Linked DNA regions of Homo sapiens: regions 1, 2, 4, 5, 6 and 7 are each linked to region 3. The links are contacts of gene promoters, found by promoter capture Hi-C in blood cells and fetal thymus (Javierre and others, 2016). All regions are on one chromosome and are shown on one strand. The core of a region is centred on a gene start or on the middle of the fragment in contact, and the rest is flanking DNA. Distances in the headings are between cores, read along the strand shown.

Evidence for each region. The method cuts DNA at HindIII sites, captures the fragments that hold promoters and counts their contacts. A CHiCAGO score of 5 or more calls a contact.
Region 1: a contact is called between a fragment that was not itself captured here and the fragment with the promoter of ZNF229 in region 3, in 11 of 17 cell types (total CD8 T cells, M0 macrophages, M1 macrophages and 8 more). The highest score is 8.3, in total CD8 T cells.
Region 2: a contact is called between the fragment with the promoter of ZNF283 here and the fragment with the promoter of ZNF229 in region 3, in 9 of 17 cell types (erythroblasts, M2 macrophages, naive CD8 T cells and 6 more). The highest score is 16.4, in erythroblasts.
Region 4: a contact is called between a fragment that was not itself captured here and the fragment with the promoter of ZNF229 in region 3, in 7 of 17 cell types (M0 macrophages, M2 macrophages, M1 macrophages and 4 more). The highest score is 9.9, in M0 macrophages.
Region 5: a contact is called between a fragment that was not itself captured here and the fragment with the promoter of ZNF229 in region 3, in 6 of 17 cell types (M2 macrophages, erythroblasts, M0 macrophages and 3 more). The highest score is 10.9, in M2 macrophages.
Region 6: a contact is called between a fragment that was not itself captured here and the fragment with the promoter of ZNF229 in region 3, in 4 of 17 cell types (M0 macrophages, M2 macrophages, total B cells and 1 more). The highest score is 8.5, in M0 macrophages.
Region 7: a contact is called between a fragment that was not itself captured here and the fragment with the promoter of ZNF229 in region 3, in 8 of 17 cell types (M2 macrophages, naive B cells, megakaryocytes and 5 more). The highest score is 8.8, in M2 macrophages.

Annotation. Positions count from the first base shown.
Region 1 is chr19:43,888,236-43,891,066 of GRCh38, reverse strand. No RefSeq gene overlaps it. Among named protein-coding and RNA genes, the nearest start is that of ZNF404, 5.7 kb to the right of the region's middle. The HindIII fragment of the contact is 966 bases long and covers 1,049-2,014 here.
Region 2 is chr19:43,825,817-43,829,044 of GRCh38, reverse strand. ZNF283 (zinc finger protein 283) reads right to left here and starts at 1,724. Exons shown (of 7, transcript NM_181845.2): 1 at 1,601-1,724; 2 at 764-843. RefSeq lists an enhancer at 1,667-1,866. The HindIII fragment of the contact is 6,325 bases long and covers 1-3,228 here.
Region 3 is chr19:44,447,030-44,449,946 of GRCh38, reverse strand. It overlaps ZNF229 (zinc finger protein 229), which reads left to right and starts at 1,475. Exons shown (of 6, transcript NM_014518.4): 1 at 1,475-1,638; 2 at 2,347-2,434. The HindIII fragment of the contact is 11,359 bases long and covers 1-2,917 here.
Region 4 is chr19:43,866,577-43,869,632 of GRCh38, reverse strand. No RefSeq gene overlaps it. Among named protein-coding and RNA genes, the nearest start is that of ZNF404, 16 kb to the left of the region's middle. The HindIII fragment of the contact is 1,628 bases long and covers 670-2,297 here.
Region 5 is chr19:43,845,667-43,848,763 of GRCh38, reverse strand. ZNF283 (zinc finger protein 283) reads right to left here. Exons shown (of 7, transcript NM_181845.2): 7 at 1-1,825. The coding sequence ends at 123. Among named protein-coding and RNA genes, the nearest start is that of ZNF283, 20 kb to the right of the region's middle. The HindIII fragment of the contact is 2,596 bases long and covers 290-2,885 here.
Region 6 is chr19:43,905,795-43,908,711 of GRCh38, reverse strand. The region is part of intron 1 of ZNF45-AS1 (ZNF45 antisense RNA 1); the gene reads right to left. Among named protein-coding and RNA genes, the nearest start is that of ZNF45-AS1, 5.4 kb to the right of the region's middle. The HindIII fragment of the contact is 2,882 bases long and covers 1-2,802 here.
Region 7 is chr19:43,922,682-43,925,912 of GRCh38, reverse strand. ZNF45 (zinc finger protein 45) reads left to right here. Exons shown (of 10, transcript NM_003425.4): 4 at 455-588; 5 at 1,352-1,511; 6 at 1,603-1,675. ZNF45-AS1 (ZNF45 antisense RNA 1) reads right to left here. Exons shown (of 3, transcript NR_184050.1): 2 at 659-771. Among named protein-coding and RNA genes, the nearest start is that of ZNF45, 11 kb to the left of the region's middle. The HindIII fragment of the contact is 2,032 bases long and covers 417-2,448 here.

The DNA of each region.
Region 1 (2,831 bases), core at 282-2,781, 560 kb after region 3:
TTATATCAGTTCAAATTGTGTTTTCAAGGAATTTTAAAATTTCATCTACATTTTCAAGTTTATTAGAAAGTTATAAAGTTGTTCATACAATTCTGATTTTAATGTATGTAGTAAAATAGGTAGTGTTATCTTCTTTTATATTCCTGATATTGGCAATTTTTTCTTGATCAGTGTAACTAGAAGTTTATTATTCTTATTAATCTCTTCAATGAAATAGCTTTGGCTTTATTGATTTTTCTTTATTGTATATCTGGGGTTTTTTGTGTTATTGGTTACTTTTGGTATGTTATACTTTCTATAGGTTTAATTTGCTTTTCCTTTTCAAGCTTCTTGATGTATATCACTGATTTTCAACCTTTCTGTTTTGACAAAACATATATTTAAAGCTTATATCTTCATAAGCATTGGTTTACCTGCGTCTCACAAGCTTTGATATATCTTACTTTCACTATCATTTAACTCAAAATATTTTCTAGCTTCCATTGATTTATTATTTGACCAGTAACTATTTAGAAGTATGCCTTTTACACAGGCACATCTCATTTTATTGCATGTTGCTTTATTGCACTTTGCAAATATTGCAATTTTTACAAATTGAGATTTGTGGTAACCCTGCATTCAGCAAGTATATTGTCTCTGTTTTTCAACAGCATGTGCTCATTCTGTGTCTCTTTGTCACATTTTGTAATTCTAGCAATATTTAAAACTTTTCCATTATTTTTATGGTGATCTGTGATCAGGGTCCTTGGTGTTACTGTTGTAATTGCTTTGGGACACCGTGAGCCACACCCATATAAGACGGTGAACTGAATGAATATATGTTATGTGTCTTCTGACTGCTCCACCGACCAGCTATTCCTGTCTCTCTTCCTCTCTTTGTTTTCCTGAAACACAACAATATTGAAATCAGGCCAGTTAGTAGCCCTACAATAGCCTCTAAGTGTTCAAATGAAAGGAAGAGTCCTCTGTTTCTCACTTTTAATCAAAAGCTAGAAGTGATTAAGCTTAGTGAGGAAGGCATGTCAAAAGCCAAGACGGGCCAAAAGCTTGACCTCTTGTGCCAAACAGTTAGCCTAGTTGTGAATGCAAAGGAAAAGTTCTTGAAGGAAATGAAAAGTGCTTCTCGAGTCATATGGAGATACTGCAATACAGAGAAAGATTAGTGGTCCACATAGAAGATCAAGCCAGCCACAAAATTCCCTTAAGCCAAAGCCAGAGCAAAGACCTAACTGTCTTCAATTTTGTGAAGTCTGAGAGACATGAGGAAGCTACAGAAGAAAGGTTGGATGCTAGCAGAGGTTGGTTCATGAGGTTTAAGGAAAAAAGTCATCTCCATAACATAACAGTGCAAGGTGAAGCAGCAAATGCTGATATATACGCTGCAGCCAGTTGTCCAGAAGATCTAGCTAAGATTATTGATGAAGGTGGCTACATTAAACAAAAGATTTTCCATGTAGACAAAACAGTCTTCTGTTGGAAGAAGATACCATCTAGGACTTTCATAGCTAGAGAGAAGTCAATGCCTGGCTTCAAAGGACAGGCTGACTCTCTTATTAGAGGCTAATGCAGCTGGTGACTATAAGTTGAAGGTGATACTCATTCACTATTCTGAAAATTCTAGCGCCCTTAAGAATTGTGCTAAATCTACTCTGCCTGTGCTCTAGAAATGGGACAACAAAGCCTGAATGACAGCACATCTGTTTATGGCATGGCTTACTCAATATTTTAAACCCACTGTTGAGACCCAATGCTCAGAAAGGAAAAAAAAGACTCCTTTCAAAATATTACTGCCGATTGACGTTCCACCTGGTCATCCAGGAGCTCTGTTGGGGATGTATGGAAAAGATTAATTTTGCTTTCATGCCTACTAACACAACATCCACCCTGCAGCCCATGGATCAAGGAATAATTTCAACTTTCAAGTTTCATTTTTTAAGAAATACATTTCATAAAACTCTAGCTGCCATAGATTGTGATTTCTCTAATGGATCTAGGCAAAGTGAATTGAAAAGCTTCTGGAATGGATTTAACATTCTAGATGCCATTAAGAACACTCCTGATTCATAGAAGGAGGTCAAAATGTTTAACAGGAGTTTGGAAGAAGTTGATTCCAACCCTCACAGATAACTTTGAGGGGTTCAAGACTTGAGTAGAGGAAGTAACTGCAGATGTGGCAAAAATAGCAAGAGAACTAGAATTAGACATGGAGCCTGAAGATGTGGCTGAATTTCTGCAATCTCATGATAAAACTTTAATGGATGAGGAGCTGCTTCTTACAGATGAGCAATTAAAGTGGTTTCTTGAGATGGAATCTACTCCTGGTGAAAATGCTGTGAATGTTGTTGAAATAAAAACAAACAATTTTGAATAGTACACAAGCTTAGTTGATAAAGCAGCACCAGGGTTGGAAAAGATTGACCCCAATTTTGAAAAAAGATCCCCTGTGGGTAAAATGCTATCAAACAGCATCACATGCTACAGAGAAATCTCTTGTGAAAGGAAGAGTCAATTGATGTGGCAAACTTCATTATTGCCTTTTTTTTTTTGAGACAGAGTCTCGCTCTGTCACCCAGGCTGGAGTGCAGTGGAGCGATCTCGGCTCACTGCAACCTCTGCCTCCTGGGTTCAAGCGCTTCTTCTGCCTCAGCCTGCCGAGCGAGTAGCTGGGACTACAGGTGCGTACCACCATGCCCAGCTAATGTTTGTATTTGTAGTAGAGACAGAGTTTCACCATGTTGGCTAGAATTGTCTCGATCTCTTGACCTTGTGATCCACCCACCTCAGCTTCTCAAAATGCTGGGATTACAGGCATGAGCCACCGCACCTGGCCC
Region 2 (3,228 bases), core at 475-2,974, 620 kb after region 3:
ACTTCAAACAAGTCATGCTTGGAAATGTTACAGATTTCTATCTAAAGATTATCTGAAAGTCCCCACTCTTGTTGGTGCAAATTACAAATCCCTATGTTCAAAGCTCAATCATATTTCCACCCCTAAAAGCCTCACAAAGCAGACAACATTGTCATTTACTGCCAGAAACATTCCCTTACTTAAAATCCCTTATACCTTGCCTTTCTTTAAGCATCATGACTATGGGCCAGGCATGGTGGCTCACACCTGCAGTCCCAGCACTTTGGGACGCCAAGGCCAGAGGAACACCTGAGCCCAGGACTTCAAGGTTGCACTGAGCTATGACTATACTACTGCACTCAGCCTGGGCAACAGAGTGAGACCTTGTCTCTAAAAAAAGTTAAAAAAAAATTTTAATTATGACTACAGAAAAGATAAAAAATAATGTTTATATAACACCACCTAATTACTAATCTCTTCAAATAATCATAGTATAAAATAATGCTCTAATAGCAATCTACAAGAGGTGCCTTTCTATAACTCTTCAGTGCATCATAATGCACTGAAGTATTTGAACAATTTGCCATATGAACAGGTGGGTAAGAATTGTGGAGAAGAACAATAGGGGGCCACTGGGAGGAAATATGTACCAGCATGGCGGGTCATGTAACTGGGAAAACCCAGTCAAGATATTTCAGGCCAAGGAAAGAAAATGTTCTCATGACCTAGAAGCAAAGGTAATTGTATGTGTATGTATTTAAAAAGTATGTATAAAAAACCTCACCTGAACCTTGATTTCTAAACATGCAAAAATCCTTTTCTCCTCTTCAAACTCCTTCTTAGAAATCTGGCAACCTGGCAGCACTGGGGGAAAAAACAGTAACATGAGACATCAGCATTTCTAGCGCGTCACAGACTTAATTAAAAAAGAAAAAGAAGAGCAAAACACCCTCTGGGGCCACTTCTGCCTTCATCCACACAAAACCAAACGGAATGAAAAGGGAGGCTAGAGTCTGTCTCTGTGTTGAGGGCAATTCTTGGGGACAGAGGTCTGCTTGCAATGGCTCTGAAACATGTAGCTCACCACCAAAGAGCTCCTAGAGGCCCCTCTTCTAGGAATCCCACCTCTAGAACTTCCCCATCAGGTCTTGACAAGATCCTGTCCCGCGGACACTTCCAGATCTAAAATTCTCATCCTTCTTGCTTGAAACGTTCATTATGGGGCTTAGCATAGACTTCTTTCTTGCGGTCATTTAATTGTGGCAGGCCCGAAGACAGGCTAAAGGGAACCTAGAGCATTTGGTCAAAGCAAATCACATTTACAAATACGGCCACGCACCCTGTCAGCCCGTCACACATTCACAACTGCACCCACCTCCGTGGGGACACGCCCCGTCCCTGCCACGCCGTCTGAGACACACTGTCCCTCGGCTGCTCGCGTGCACACAGGCTTGAGGATCCGGACACGACACGCTCTGTCCGTGACCCAGCCCTCCCCACCTCCAGCACCCCCGATGCCACCCCCACCCTCACTGCCGGTTCCAGTCGGGCCCCAGTAAAGCCAGCCGAGCCCTCCCAGCTTCACCCGGGCTGATTACTTCTACAGACACGACCAACTCACCATGCAGAGTCCAAGAACCTTAAGGACACCGGAAAAGGACCCAGAGACCTGTGGTTAGTTTGGACCCAGAGGCTGATGGGAAACAAGAGCCTGGAAATGCTCGCAGGCTGGGAGAGGAGCTTCTGGCAGGCAAGCTCGCCCCGCCCCTAAAAGGCCTGTGCCCCGGAGACTTCTGGGAAATGTAGTCCACAGCGGCAGAGTCTCCGGAAGTTGAAACCTGGACAGCAGGGATGCTCCCAGCATGCAACTTGGCTTCACCTGTCAAAGGCGCTTTTTTCGAAGACGCCCGGGAGCTCTTGCTTTTGCTTGAGGGTCTTTGGTGTTGACTGAGAGCGAATTAAAAGGTTCTCAGCTTTCGCTAAGGAACGCATTCTGGAGTCTAGAACAGGCGAAGATGGGACTGGGGTGTCTGGGGACTTAGACGTGAGCGAGCAAGGGAATCCGGGGTAAGTTCGCTGGAAATGACCTGCGCGACACTACCAGTTTACCTGGGTATGAGCGCCTGGAACAGTGTCTGGCAATTGAACAGATGGGTGTGTCTTGCTGTGAGGGAGTTTCTTAGTTCGATTCGGTGTCTGGGACCCTGCGTGGACCTGTTTATGTTCATGGGATGTTTTCTAAATTTATGCCTGTGTGAGTCTGTTTTATTAGGTGTGAGATGAACTGTGTTACAGATTTTATATGCCGCTGTTGAAAGACAACAATAAGTGGTAGTGAGTGGATATTGTGACCGTGGAGACTTATGGCAGTGCAAAGGCGGCCATAAACAATGCACAAGCAATCCAGCATGGCTGTGTTCCAATAAAACTTGATGGATTATAAAATTTGAATCTCATTTTTTATAGAGTATGAAACCATTTATTCTGAAGCACACACTCATACTCCAAAAACAATACTATATATTCCCTCTCTCTCTCTCCTGTGTGTTTGCGTGTGTGTGTGTGTGGGTGTGTGAGAGAGAGAAAGGTTTTAAAGGAGACAACTAACTGATTCTGAGGTTAGGGCAAAAAGATTGGGGCTGTGGTTGGTGTGGTAAGAACCTTTGGATATAAATACTTTTTTAAAAAAGAATTGTCTAAAAATATTAAAGCGAAATTTTATATTAAAACTAACAGAAAGAAAAGGAAGTTACTTTTTAGGGGCTCTTTCTGGTCACTGATATCACCTCTCTCATCCTCTGCCATCTCTCACCTCCTGGTCTCTCTTGCTTATCAAGAGAAGACTAGAGCTCTTGGATCCCAGCTTTTCCCCTGCCTCAGCTGAGGCCACTACCCTGGTTGACTCCCATGGTGACATGGATGCCTCATCCAGTATCGTGGGTCTGAGTCCTCATCTGCAGGGTCCTTGAGCTTTCCTCGGCACCCATCCCCGTTTCCCATCTGGGACTTCATTATCATCAGCATCTGCTCCACCTCCAAAACCACTGGTGGAAGCAGCCTCCTCTCTTCCCATGTTACTTGCTCAATGACTCCCACAAGTACTACTCTGAATATTTTGGGGGTCTGATTTTTTTTTAATTTTTTATTTCCATAGGTTTTTGGGAAACAGGTGGTGTTTGGTTACATGAGTAACTTCTTCAGTGGTGATTTGTGAGATTTTGGTGCACCCATCACCTGAACAGTGTACAT
Region 3 (2,917 bases), core at 226-2,725:
AAATTCAGACATTTGTAAAACTGGAGGACACAGGATGGGAAGTAGGACTGTGTCTACCCAAGCAAAGAGGGGTGGGTTTGGAACCAAATATCTGAAGGGCTTGGATGCTTTGGAGTCAATTGGCAATTTTTTAGAATTTATCAAAACAATTCGATAATCTGTTTATAAGAGAGAGTTCTAGAACTTCTAGGATGAAATTTTTGAAACACAACAAGGAGGGAGAGATAAGGAAATGAGTTATCACTGTAACTGAAACCTTTCATCATGGCACAGAAAAAGCAATCTCTATCTTCAGAACACACTTGTATCCCAGAAAATATTTCATTATATATATAGTAATGTAGTAAGTGATTAGGATGCCGTTTAAATCAGAAAGGAAAGAATTAATATTTATGTAAATTTTGTTAAGAAAAGTAGACAATCCTTTGGTGAAACAGGAAACTCCATCTTCCTTTCATATCATACACTTAAATGAATCACGCGGTGATTCAAAAGAAAAATGAAAGAGCCTGAAATGAATATAGATATGCACTTATTGGGAATCAGGCTAAGGAATGTCTTTTTGGTCATACTGGAGAAAAAAAAGAAGCCACAAATGAAAAGACTGATATACCTTGTCAGATGAAGTTTTTTGTTTTTTTTTTTTTCTAAACTACTTTATAAATGTTGAAACTGGGGGAGCAATTCATCACTTAGAAGCGATATCATTCATACACAGAGAGTGTATGACAATAAAAGATGACAATGAAATGCAATCGGTAATAAGCATATTTACTCTGTCAAATTGGGAAAATAAGACAGGATATTTAGTCCATCAAATTGGGAAAATATTAAAGAAAGTGATTGTGTGTAGTTTTGATATCATAAAATTAGAAGTGTAAGTTCAATGCAGGACAAAGGGGTAACTTCCCTAAAAACTAAAGAATGCTAGGCAAGTATTGCAAATAATTTGTGTTTTTTTATTATCTCTATGTATCTCTACGTCTTTTGTGACATACAGAACTATCCACGATATATGACCTGTGGCAAGAAATGATTACAAAATATTATGATGCCATTTGGGAAATGGGATTCTTAAGAATTCATATTTACTCACATAAACCAGGGATTAAGTAAGAATTTTTTTTAAACCATTCTTTACATGTAATATGAACTACTTTTGAAATAAATATTTAGTTGGCTTTTACACCAGAAAATCAATAATGCTTTATATCCCTGGTGATGGGATGATGGGCTTGTTTGAGAATATAGTCAGGTTTGCTACAACGCGAATATGTTAGTACTGAGTAAAGACATTCTTTTCAACTCAGAAACACCTTGCATGCCGCCTCCCGCCGCCTCGCAGTGGGCGTGACTCGAGGTGGACGCGCATTTACGACACCATCGCCCCTAGGATCGGACTGCGCTGCGGAGGGTTCTGGGAAAGGTAGTCCCACACCTCGAGTCGACTACTTCCGTTTCCGGTGGGCGCGTCACCTTGATTGCTTCTTAGGCAGTGGTGAGGCGTCTTAGAGACGTGCATCTCCATGCGGTTGTACTGTCAGGCCATGGGAATTAGGATCGGCTCTATAGGACCAGTGTGAAGGGACAACGTGCGGCGGAGGGTCGAAGCCCACGGATTTCCATGAGCTCGGCCTGGTGAGGCAGGGGTGTAAGGAGGCGCACGTATCGAACATTCTGAGCGCCTGTGCGGGGTGGGCCCGGGTCGGCAGCCCTCGCAGTCCAGGCTTGGAAAAGCAGTTTGAGGCCAGCTCTGGCTTTGAGATGAGATCTGCAGTGCGGGAGACTCCACTGTGTCAGTTGCGGATCGATGACATGAATTTTCTCAGGGTAGCCGCCCACCCACTTGTGGAGTAATTTCAGAGTTTTCTGCGAAGTCATTTCTGTAAACAGGAAGTTGATTCCCTGTGTTCTAATTTTATCCTTTGAAATGTATTAAGCGCTGTGCAAGTCCTAGGAGTTGGTTTGCTGTATCGTTGCTGGCTCTGCTTTTTGTAGCCGCCTAAGCACACACAGGCAGAATTTCACTTGTAAGTGTCCCACAGCATGTGACAGTCAGCTCTGGATTAAAATCTTGAGATTTTGTCTTGATTCTCCTTGTCTCCTGAAAGGGGCAGTGAAAGTAGGCTTGTAGACGGTTTCTTTGGGCATCAGGAATGGCGTGTCCCTTGTACTCTGAGTCCTGTAGGAAGAGAGGTTCTTTTCCTCGGCTCCTGAAGCAAGTAGCGAGGGTAGATTACAGGAAGGGGTAGATTACATCCAGCTGGCACTGAGAGATTTCCCCCTGTGGCGTGGTGGGAATTGGGATTAAATCATGTTATCCTGCTGTTCATTTTTCTTTCACAGGCTTCCTTCTTGGAATTGTTCGTTTCTCGGAGATAATTGTATAAAAGAAGGAGAAATAACCCCACATCTCTTGACACTAGAGCTCCAGGTGAGTGAACTTTGGTTCTCTTTTGTGGCAATGCCAGGTCTCTTGGTGACCTCATTCTTCATCCCATTGATATCACAAATGTTCATTCAGACCCCTTAGCCACACCTGCCTTCCCCTAGAAATGGGGGAGGTTTGAGGAATTTCCCAGTGTCTTTATTTAGTGTATTCTCTTCTTGGCTCCTAGTAGTGTGTCACTGGGTCAGTAAAGGCTTACACTGTTTCAGCGCCATGCTGAAGAAACGCAGGGTAGAAATAATTAGAGTAACTGTGATGGTGTATATTAACTGAGTGCTTACTATATGCCAGGTATTATTTATCCATGGTGTCTAGGACAGTGCCAGGCTTGCCAATAAATATTTGAATAAATGAATGTATTTCTATTGAATTTTCTGAGCAAGTTTGTATGTTAGCTATTATCCCCATGTCACAGATGAGTTGCTAAGGTTTAAAAAGTTAAAAAAACTTAACAGGTAAGACCTGGCC
Region 4 (3,056 bases), core at 234-2,733, 580 kb after region 3:
GAGACGGAGTCTCACTCTATCACCTAGGCTGGAGTGCAGTGGCGCGATCTCGGCTCACTGCAAGCTCCGCCTCCCAGGTTCATGCCATTCTCCTCAGCCTCCCGAGTAGCTGGGACTACAGGTGCCCACCACCACACCTGGCTAATTTTTTGTAGTTTTAGTAGAGACGGGGTTTCACCGTGTTAGCCAGGATGGGCTTGATCTGCTGACCTCATGATCGCCCCCCTCAGCCTCCCAAAATGCTGGGATTACAGGCGTCAGCCACCAAGCCTGACCTCTATTTCTTTTAACAGTTCCATGAAGTAGTCGTGATTCATAATATTTACATGTATATACTTCATAGGTATATTCTTTATACAGTAGAGCAAAGCAGTTAGGGAGACATCAGTCTCTTGCATTAAAATTCCAAGGAATTCAGATTTTTAACCTAATACAGCTGGTGTATCATCTATTGTGATAGAAATATTTTTTGATACCTAACAGAAATTTTTCTTTGACAGATATAAAAGACAAAAATATCTATGTCATGACTCTGGTTTTGTAGGCTGCGAATTGACAGCTTTTTTTATTTGGGGATCTTTTGAGACAAAATGTACCCACAGTATCAATTGGGCTAAATTATCTTATATTGCACAACTCATATATGGCTAAAGAAGAGTACTTGAAGCTTTTGCTAACTTTGAATTAATTGATCCATGATATTGTTAGAAATATCTTGTATTCTATGAGCAGTTTTTAGGTGACTTAATTTTTTTTTACTTTTTATAAGATCATTTTAGTCTTTCTCAGAATATGCTAACAAGATTTTTGCAACCAAACTAATAATTTATCTTATCTCTATATCCAACATTTCTTTTTTGTGCAAGAATCAGAGCCATTTTATAGCTCAAAAAGGTTATAAACTCAGATTCTGTTTAAAAATTGTTTAAATATTTTGGTTGGACATTTAATTCTAATTTCAGGCAACTAACTTCATCTATTCCATTTTGCTTCTCAAGAGAAAACGTCTCATCAAATTTACTATGTATTTGCTGAAAATGTTTCACAATATTTTTCTCTTTAACAATTTAATTTGTTATGTAATAAACAGCTTTTTTTTTTTGCTCTCTCACAGCAAATTGCAATTGACATTCATCATGAAATTCATAGTATATTATCTTCCAGGCTCATTTTTTACAATTCTGACCATAGTACTGGTCTCCACTCAATTCTGTGTAATATGCCTTCATTTATTTTAAATTTTAAATTTTGTCCATACTTACTTTTCAACCTAGAATAATAATTTAATTATAAAGTACTAAGTATTTCCATTTAATTACTAATAATTATTTCCTTAGTATCACTGTAACTCTTCTTCTTTTTGAAGTATTCAAATAAATACATCAAGGCAGGGCACAATGGCTCACACCTGTAATCTCAGCATTTGGAAGGCTGAGGCAGGCGGATCACTTGAGGCCAGGAGTTCTTGGCCCGGCCAACATGGCAAAACCCCGACGTTACTAGAAATACAAAAATTAGCCTGGTGCAGTGATGCATGCCTGTAATCCCAGCTCCTCAGGAGGCCGAAGCACAAGAATTGCTTGAACTTGGGAGGCGGAGGTTGCAGTGAGCCGAAATGGTGCCACTGCCCTCCAACCTGGGCAACAGAGTGAGCTCTTGTCAAAAACAAAAAATAAAACAAAAAAAAAAACCCAGAGCTAATACTTTCCATGAATGTTTCCACGTAAGGACTCATCCCCAACTCATCAAAAATTCAGAGTATCTGCAACAGGAAGACACTTACAGAACATTTCCATCATTCCTAAAAGTTCTCTCTTGCTTCTTATCTTTCATTCTCCTAAGGCTACTGTTGTTCTGATTTCTATTACAATTAATGTGTTTTACCTTATCTTGATCTTCATGTAAATGGAATCATACATTATGAATACTACTATTCCTTAATTCTTTCATTCAATAGAAAAATTTGAGATTCTGCTATGTTATTCCTTAGATTAGTAGTTTATAGCTTTTTACTATTTAGTAATATTCAAGGTATGAATATACCATAGTTTATTCATCTGTTCTTCTATTGATGGATTTTTGAATAGTTTGCAGGAATTTTTTTATTATAAAATCTCTCCAAATAGATTTTTTAAGATAAAAAATTATTTCCCTCATTGATTTGCATAGGTGACTCTTATAAATCAATTGGTTGTATATATTTGGAATTATTTCTGGAGCCTGTCTTCTGTTACACTGATATATTTAACTTTCCTTATACAAATACTACACTCTATGAAATAGCTTTATATTAAGCTTTGAAACAAGGTAAGCTAAATATCCCAAAGTTTTGAAGATGGCCGAATAGGAACAGCTCCGGTCTACCGCTCCCAGCGTGAGCGTCGCAGAAGACGGTGATTTCTGCATTTCCATCTGAGGTACCGGGTTCATCCCACTAGGGAGTGCCAGACAGTGGGCGCAGGTCAGTGGGTGCGCGCACCGTGCGGGAGCAGAAGCAGGGCGAGGCAATGCCTCACTTGGGAAGTGCAAGGGGTCAGGGAGTTCCCTTTCCAAGTCAAAGAACGGAGTGACGGATGGCACCTGGAAAATCGGGTCACTCCCACCCGAATACTGCGCTTTTCCGGCGGGCTTAAAAAAACGGCGCACCACGAGATTATATCCCGCACCTGGCTCGGAGGGTCCTACACCCACGGAGTCTCGCTGATTGCTAGCACAGCAGTCTGAGATCAAACTGCAAGGCGGCAGCGAGGCTGGGGGAGGGGCGCCTGCCATTGCCCAGGCTTGATTAGGTAAACAAAGCAGCCGGGAAGTTCGAACTGGGTGGAGCCCACCACAGCTCAAGGAGGCCTGCCTGCATCTGTAGGCTCCACCTCTGGGGGCAGGGCACAGACAAACAAAAAGATAGCAGTAACCTCTGCAAACTTAAAATGTCCCTGTCTGACAGCTTTGAAGAGAGCAGTGGTTCTCCCAGCACGCAGCTGGAGATCTGAGAACGGGCAGACTGCCTCCTCAAGTGGGTCCCTGACCCCTGACCCCCAAGCAGCCTAACTGGGAGG
Region 5 (3,097 bases), core at 338-2,837, 600 kb after region 3:
CATAAACAGAAATGAATGGCTTTTGCACAACCCTTACATTCACAAGGTTTCTCAAGAGTAAGAGTTCTTATTATGATAAGTTGTCTATACACACACACAAAATATTCTTTTACAACTTTCAATCATAAGGTTTCATCAGTATCAATTTTCTCATTTGAGTAAGTTGTCCACAGAAAGGCTTCCCCACATTCGTTATATTTGTAGGGTTTATCATTACTATGAGTTCTCTCATGAACAAGTTTTGAGCCACAAGTAAAGGTCTTCCCGAATTCCTTACGTTGATAAAGCTTCTCACCAGTATGAAATCTCTGATGAACACTAAGTTGATAGCCACTACCAAAGGCCTTCCCACAGTCTTTACATTCATAAGACTTCTCATTAGTATGGACTCTCTCATGCTTAACTAGGCTTGAACCCCAACTGAAGGCCTTCCCACATTCCTTACATTTGAAAGGTTTCTCACCGGTATGAATTTTCTGATGTTGAGTAAGGTGATAGCCACGACTAAAAGCCTTCCCACATTCTTTACATTCATAGGGTTTCTCCCCTGTATGGATTCTTTCATGTTGAACAAGGCTTGATCCACAATTAAAAGCCTTCCCACATTCCTTACATTCATAGGGTTTCTCACCAGTGTGAAATACCTGATGTCGAGTAAGTTGATACCCACTACAAAAGGTCTTTCCGCATTCTTTACATTCATGGGATTTCTCACCAGTATGAACTCTCTCATGTTTAACAAGGCTTGAACCCCAACTAAAGGCCTTCCCACATTCCTTACATTCAAAAGGTTTCTCACCAGTATGGATTTTCTGATGTTGAGAAAGGTGATAGCCACGACTAAAGGCCTTTCCACATTCTTTACATTCATAAGGTTTCTCACCAGTATGAATTCTTTCATGTTGAATAAGACTTGATCCGCAATTAAAAGCCTTCCCACATTCCTTGCATTCATAGGGTTTCTCACCAGTATGAAATATCTGATGTCGAGTAAGTTGATAGCCCCAACAAAAAGCCTTTCCACATATTTTACATTCATAAGGTTTCTTACCAGTATGGATTTTCTGATGCTGAGTAAGCTGATAGCCACGACTGAAGGCCTTCCCACATTCTTTACATTTATAAGGTTTCTCACCTGTATGAATTATCTCATGTTTAGCAAGGCTTGAGCCCCAAAAAAAGGCCTTCCCACATTCCTTACATTTATAAGATTTCACACCAGTATGAATTTTCTGATGTTGGGTAAGGTGATAGCCACGACTAAAGGCCTTCCCACATTCTTTACATTCATAGGGTTTCTCACCAGTGTGAATTCTCTCATGTTTAACAAGGCTTGATCCCCAGCTAAAGGTCTTCCCACATTCCTTACACTCATAGGGTTTCTCACCAGTATGAAATCTCTGATGCACATTGAGTTGATAGGCACTTAAATAATTCTTCCCACATTCTTTACATTCAAAGTGTTTTTCAGCTGTATGAGTTCTCTCATGTTGAACAAGTTTTGAGCCATGACTGCAAGCCTTCCCACATTCCTTACAAACATAGGATTTCTCTGTATTATGAATTCTTTGATGTGGAGTAAGAGATTTACTTTTTCTGTAAGAAGGTATTTTTTCATAGCTGATTATCATTTGACTGAAGTATCCCTCTTGATGTCCTTTTAGTCCCTCGAATATGCTTTTGCACTTCCAATTATTTCTGAAGATGGATGCCTCAAGGCCAAGGGTTTTACTTTTGTCCTTCATCTCCCACTGGGAAAAATTTATTTCAAAAATATCATTTTCTGAAAATATTTTTTTGGTCTCATACGTTTTTGACTCCAAATCTGAAAGAAAACAAGAAAACCACACATTTTATTTCCTTCACTAGGGAAAAAAAAAAAAAAACTACAGTAGAAATAAAAGACAAATTAGGAGACTTACTGAACTCACTCCTTGGCATTAAGGCACTCCCTTGTTAAATAACAAACTCAGCCTTGATTTTGCAGCTCTTGTGATCTGAATGTTCTGATTTTATAGTTTTCTGGAGGATTCCACAGAGGTCGCTTCAACAAGTCCCTCATTTTCCCACGCTGATGTTCCCTCAAACCAAATGTCAGCTTCCATCAATCAAGCCCTTATGTGCCCAGTTGTGGTCATCCAATGTATCTTAATGGGAATCAAATTCTTATCATAATGAGCTTTGGCTGATTTTGTTTTGTCTAACAACTCTTTTGTCTAACAACTCAATGGTCGCAACTCTGCCATTTTATCAAGGCAGCCATGGGCAATATGTAAACATATAAACAAATGGGCAAGACTATGTTCCAATACAACTTTATTTGCAAAAACAGGTGGATTTGGCCTCCAGAGCCAGAGTTTTCCAACCCCTGAGATAAAGCAAACATTGCTTTCATAAATGTTCACAATTGTAAAAATATAAAGTTCAATTAAATTTTACATTTACTTAGATTTATTAGCCAGAATTTTTATAAAAGGATTGATTTTTATAACTTCATATAATGCTGCAATTATGTGACTCTATAGATTTTACCTTATTTAAAAATTTTAAATGTCTATCAATTTTAAAAATCAACAGTAATTGTATTGCTATTTAAGGATCACTTTAAATTATAAGATCTCCAATTCACTTAGACAAAATGATCTTGAGAGTTACTAATAAATAATTTCTGGTTGCATAAAAAGTTCCTAAGAAGATATTCATAAAAGAGGAAGAACAAATATTTTGAGTTATTTTTCAATTAAGTTTACTTATTTCTTGACCATTGTTAAACATATTTTCACTCAACTAAGCTCAAACTACCCTGTCAAAAATCAATGTGATACACACATCATCTTATAACACATTAATACTGTTAATTATATTTTAAAATTGAAAATAAAGCTTTAAATTATAGTGTCATTCAGCATGGTATATTGACAATATTAGCAGGTTTAAATGCATATGGGAAATGCTATGTCATATAATGTATGAAAAAAGTGACATAAGTATGATATGATAGAAAAGACTGCTAGCTAAGGGAAAATGATGATCTTGGAGTAAACTGTCCACTCTATATGAGGAAATTAAAGTATTATTCTTTTTCTTCAATACATGA
Region 6 (2,917 bases), core at 112-2,611, 540 kb after region 3:
GGAGCTTCAGTTAAGTGTGAGGTTTTATGTTAATCTGGCTAGGTGTTGGGCTGTGTTTAATGTTTGATTTAGCTGAAGGTGTCAGAGGTTTCAGTTTTACCTTTCTGTAGTGTCCCTTCTTTTTCCTTCCCTGTTGTCTTTGAATTTCCCTAAGAACTTTAAAAATAGAATCTGTGTCTTGCAGCCTTCTCACTTTTATTATCCTGTTGTTATACAAGAATCCTATTGATATGGTGGTAAAGTGTGGGGAGAGGGGAAGTGTTCTACAATCATATGATTTAATCTGTCTTTTAGTGGGCCTGAGTCCCTGGCCTGTGATCTTCAGACGCAGTTCTTAGTCTTTCTGTTTTCCCCTTAGGTAAGACAGGAAGGCGAGTTGACATATTGCCTTTCTCCCCAGTTATATAAGTATCTGATAAAGTCATTTCCCTTGGATAGCAGTCCTTTGTTATGTGGAACACTCTCAGTGTATTTCAAAATAGTTACTTTTGTCCTCCTCCAAAACATGAGATTTTTCTTGTAAATTCACCATGAGAACCTAGTAGCATTACTGGACGTAAATTCCATGAAAGTGTGAGGCTCCCCCTAAGACTGCGTCCCTGGAAGATTTTTGAAGCTAGCCTCCAATGAATTCTCTAAATTACCAATTAAGCGCTCCTACCAATAGCATTGCTAATTACTTGTTATCAACTAATTGGTAACACTTAGTTACCAACACTTAGTTACCAATTAGCTGGTAATACTTAATTACACTGCTAGTAAATATTACCAATTAGCTGGTAATACTTAATTAGCAGTGTTATTGGTAACACTTAGTTACCAATATTCTTTCCCCGCCTAAATGGTCTTACCTTGGTCCTTCTGCTCCAAGTAAGCTGATCTCCGTTTGCTTGTCTCTCCAGATTTAAGGCTGGTGGTTTGCCTTGTGACCTCTATTATCTGACAGATCCAGAAAAAATTAATTTCTTTAGTTTTTTTTGTTGTTGTTGTTGTTGTGAGGATGGGAGTGATCATCCCAGAAATCTGACTGACTTCCAGAAATTGGATTATCCATTTTTTTTTTATTGTTGAGTTCTAAGAGTTTTTGTATTCTAGATACAAGTCCATTGTCATATGTATGATGGGCAAATATTGTCTCCCATTCAGTGGGTATCTTGTCACTTTCTTGATGGTATCATTTGCAGTAAAAAGTTTGAATTTTGATATACTCCTATTTATTGTTTTGCTTATGCTTTTGGTGTATCCAAAATATCATTGCCTATTCCAAGCTCATGAAGATTTGCCCCTGTGTTGTCTTTGAAGAGTTTTATAGTGTTAGCTCCTATAGGATTTAGGTCAGTGATGTGAGTTAATTTTTGTGTATGGTATAAAGTAGAATTCCAACTTCATTCTTTCTTTGCAGACAGATATCCAGTTGTCTTACCATAATTTGTTGAGAAGACTATTCTTTCCCCTACTAAATGGCCGTAGCACCCTTATTGAAAATGAATCGACAGTGTCAAGACTTACTTCTGGACTTTTAAATCTATTCCACTCATCTCTATGTCTACCCTTGTGCCAGTACCACACTGTAGTTTTCCAGTAACTTTTGAAATTGGGAAATGCGAGTCCTCCAACTTTGTTCTTCCTTTCTAAAGTTGTTTTGGTTATTTTGGGTCCCTTGTGTCTCCATATGAATTTAGGATCAGCTGGTCAATTTCTAGAGGCAGTGGGGTTGGGAGGGGGGAGCCAGCTAGGATATTGTTAAGGACTGCATTGAATCCATAGGTCAATTTGGGAGGTATTGGCATCTTAACAATATTAACTTTTCTTATCCATGAACCACAGATGTCTTTCCTTTTATTTAGGTCGTCTTTAATTTCTTTCAATGATGTTTTATAATTTTCAGTGTACAAACTTTCCTCTTCATTTGTTAACTTTATTCCTTAAGTATTTTCTTCAAATTCTGTTGTAAATGGAATTGTTTTCCTACTTTCATTTTTTGATTATTCATTGCTAGTGTGTAAGAACACAATTTTTTTGCATATTGATCTTCCTGTAACTTTGCTGAACTCATTTACTAGTCTTATTAGTTTTTTGTGATTTCCTTAGGACTTTATGTATATAAAATCATATCTGCAAATATAGCTTTACTTCTTCATTGTACTTCTTCATTTCCATATGGATGTCTCTTATTTCATTTATTTGCCTAGTTGCCCTGGCTAGAACCTCCAGCATGTATCAAATAGAAGTGGTGAGAGTTGGCTGGGCGTGGTGGCTCATGCCTGTAATTCCAGCACTTTGAGAGACTGAGGCAGGGAGATCACTTGAGGTCAGGAGTTCAAGACCAGCCTGGGCAACATGGTGAAACCCCATCTCTACTAAAAATACAAAAATTAGACGGGCGTGGTGGTAGGTGCCTTTAATTCCAGCTACTAGGAGGCTGAGGCAGGGGAATCCCTTGAACACGGAAGGCGGAGGTTGCCGTGAGCTGAGATCGCGCCACTGTACTCCAGCCTGGGCAACAGGGCAAGACTCCTGTCTCAAAAAAAAAAAAAAAAAAAAAAAGTGGTGAGAGTGCACATCTTTGTCTTGTCCCTGATCTTAGAAAGTACTCTGTCTTTCACCATTAAGTATGATATTGGCTGTGGGTGTTTTATAGGTGGTATGTTGAAGAAGTTCCCTTCCATTTCTAATTTGTTGAATGTGTTTTTTATCATGAACAGGTGTGCACATTTCATGGATTTCTCTCTTTTTTTTGTTTCCTTCTGCCTACTTTGGGTTTCAGATGTTCTTTTTTTCTTGTTTCTTAAGGTAAAAGCTTAGGTCACTATATTAGTCTGTTCTCACACTGCTATAAAGAAATCCCTAAGACTGAGTAATTTATAAAGAAAAGAGGTTTAGTTGCTCACAGTGCTGCAGGCTGTACAGGAAACAC
Region 7 (3,231 bases), core at 183-2,682, 520 kb after region 3:
GCCTATAATCCCAGCACTTTGGGAGGCCAAGGCGGGTGGATCACTTGAGGTCAGGAGGTCGAGACCAGCCTGGCCAAAATAGTGAAACCTCATCTGTACTAAAAAAACAAAAGAAACAAAAAAAATTAGCCAGGAATGGTGGCGGGTGCCCATAATCCAGCTACTGGGGAGGCTGAGGCAGGATAATCTTTTGAACCCGGAAGGCTGAGGTTGCAGTAAGCTGAGATCATTCCACTGCACTCCAGCCTGGGCCACAGCGCAAGACTCCATTTCAGAAAAATAAATAAATAAGTATTTCTTCTAAGATTGGAAGGTTTTATGTTTCCCTTTTCAATAGTAAGGGTTCTTCTATCTGAAGTAAGAGAACTAAGAATAATTTACTAATAAATCAAGCAGTAATTAACTAATACTAAGCTTTTAATCTGGGTATTTTACTCGTTTCCACCCTCCATAGAATCAGAATCATACCCTGAGAGCTACAAGAACTCCATTTTTCACTGTGCAGAGGCTCTCTGCTGAAGGGTCAAGTGGAATCTGGAATCCAGCCCATGTTTCCCCATCATCAAGCCATGTGAAGCTGCAGACTCCGTGAGTGCCTTAGTCCATTTGTGCTGCTATAACAAACAATACCATAGGCTGGGTGGCTTAAACAACAAACCTTTATAACTCACAGTCCTGGAGACTGGGAAGTCCATGATCAAGTCACTGGCAAATCCAATGTCTAATGAGGCCACTCTTACTGGTTCGCAGAAGCTGTTGTCTTGTATCTTCCTGGGAGGAAGAGAGAAAGAGCTAGGTTACTTGCTTTTCTTACAAGGAAAGCAATCCCATTATGGAGGCTTCACCCTCATGACCTAATTACCTCCTAAAGGCCCCACCTCCCAATAACATCACATTAGGGCTTCAACATAAGAATTTTGAGGGGACACAGACATTGGTCCACAGCAGCAAGGGAGGGGCTCCCTGACTGTTTCATGTAAAGCATCTGCATGGGTTTATGTGTAACTTCTATTGATTGTTTAAGCTGCCAGAAACTGTTCCACATGTTTTGTGTATACTTAGTCACTTTCACTGACCTTCCTATGAAGTAGGTATTATTATTACATCCAGTTTATAGATTAGACATTAGAGCACAAAGTACTAGCAAGTTGGACATGCCTGTATTCCAGTACTGGTGGGCTGGTTCTGGAGTCTAGACTGTTCACAACTCTGTTCTCTACTCCCTCAAGCAGCTCCCTTGGCTTCAGAGTCCAATCTCCATTTCTGTGTCTGTCTTTTACCCCTAACTCTGGAGCCCTCATTTCTCCTTCCATGAGATCTTAGACTCCCATCTGCTTATTTTTGTCTTTAGAAGCAACAGAGAGACAAGATTTAGAATACTGGCTCTGGTATGAAAGCTGGATTCAGGTACTGTTCCTGCCTCTTGACCTCACCAAGCCTCAGCTTCCTCGCCTGTTAAATGGATACAATTGTCGTCATTATCATCTGTTGAGAACTCCCTAAAATGCCAGGTACTATGCCAAGGGCATTGCATAAATTCACTCATTGATTCCTCACAGTAATCCTATGATTAACATCCTGTTTTCATTTCCCTTCTTATAGCTGAGCATAGGCACAGAAGTTTAGGTGTTTGGACCAAGGTCACACAACTGATACAACAGTAGCTTCTTCACAGGTATGTGTGAAGTACCTTAATGAAACATCATGTGCCAAGTTCTTCATAAGGTCCCTAATATGTATTTAGTTAAATATCACCATTTTTGTTGTTATTATTGTGCTTCCTATAGCTTGTTAATTTCAGTGACATTATCTAATTTATAGTTGCATAAATCTTGCAGAGTCATGATTTTTTATTAAATTTTCTCTGTCTCTATGATAGTCTTTTTAAGGCCCTACTGTTAAAGTAAATTTTGCAAGGTCTTTTTTTTTTTTTTTAGATTTTTTTTTTTTCTCTTTAGAGATCACTCTGTTGGCCAGGTTGGTCTTGAACTCTTGGCCTCAAGCAGTCCTCCCACTTTGGCCTCCCAGAGTGCTAGGATTACAGGCATGAGCCACTCTACACAGCCAAATTTTGCAAGGTCTTATACCTTTTAGAAACCAGTCCATATAGTCAAATTCATAGAGATAACGTGGTTATCAGGGGCTGGGAGGGGGAATGGGGAATTATTACTTAATGGGTACATAAAAAATTCTGATGATGGATAGTGGTGATGGCTGCACAACAATGTAAATGTACTTACTGAATGTAACCACTTAAAAAATGGTTAAAATGGTAAATTTTATGTTACATATTTTACTATCAAAAAAAGCAGTCATCTATGTACAGTAGTCCCCCCTTATCCACAGCAGATACCTTCCAAGTCCCCCAGTGAATGACTTAAACCTCAGATATTACTGAACCCTAAATATACTATGTTTTTCCTTTACCTACATACTTATGATAAAGCTTAATTTATAAATTAGGCACAGTAAGAGACTAACAACAATAACTTATAATAAAATAGAATAATGATAAAATACTGTAACAAAAGTTCTATAAACATGGTCTCTCTCTCTCTCTCAGAATATCTTACTGCACTGTACTCACCTATTTTTGGGCCATAGTTGACTTCAGGTAACTGAAACCACAGAAAGCAAAACTATGGATAGGAAGGACCACTGTAATCTTAAATACTATTGCAAAAGCCTCAAATTAAGTATGGGAAACCAAGAGAGAATAACAGGTATTTCAGAGGTTAAAGGCGAGGTTAAAGTAGAGGTTAAAAAACCTCTACTAAAGAATTCATCAGCTGAGTGTGGTGGCTCACACCTGTAATCCCAGCACTTTGGGAGGCTGAGGCAGGAGGATCACTTGAGCTCAGGAGTTTGAGACTGGCTCGGGCAACATAGCATGACCTCGTCTCTACAAAAAGTAAAAAAATTAGCTGGACATTGTGGTGCACACCTGTGGTCCCAGCTACTTGGGAGGCTGAGGTGGGAGGATCGCTTGAGCCCAGGAGGTCAAGGCTTTAGTGAGTCATGATTGTGCCACTGCACTCCAGCCTGGGCAGCAGAGCAAGACCCTCTCTCAAAAAAAAAAAAAAAAAAAAAAACAAAGAATTTATTGGTAGAAACCATTAATGAGCACAGGTTTTATGTTATGTGCTTTTCTGCAGCTAAGAAATAAGGTACTCTGAAAATATTCTTTGAGCTTTTTCCCTCATTTAATTTGTAAACAATCCTATGAGATTG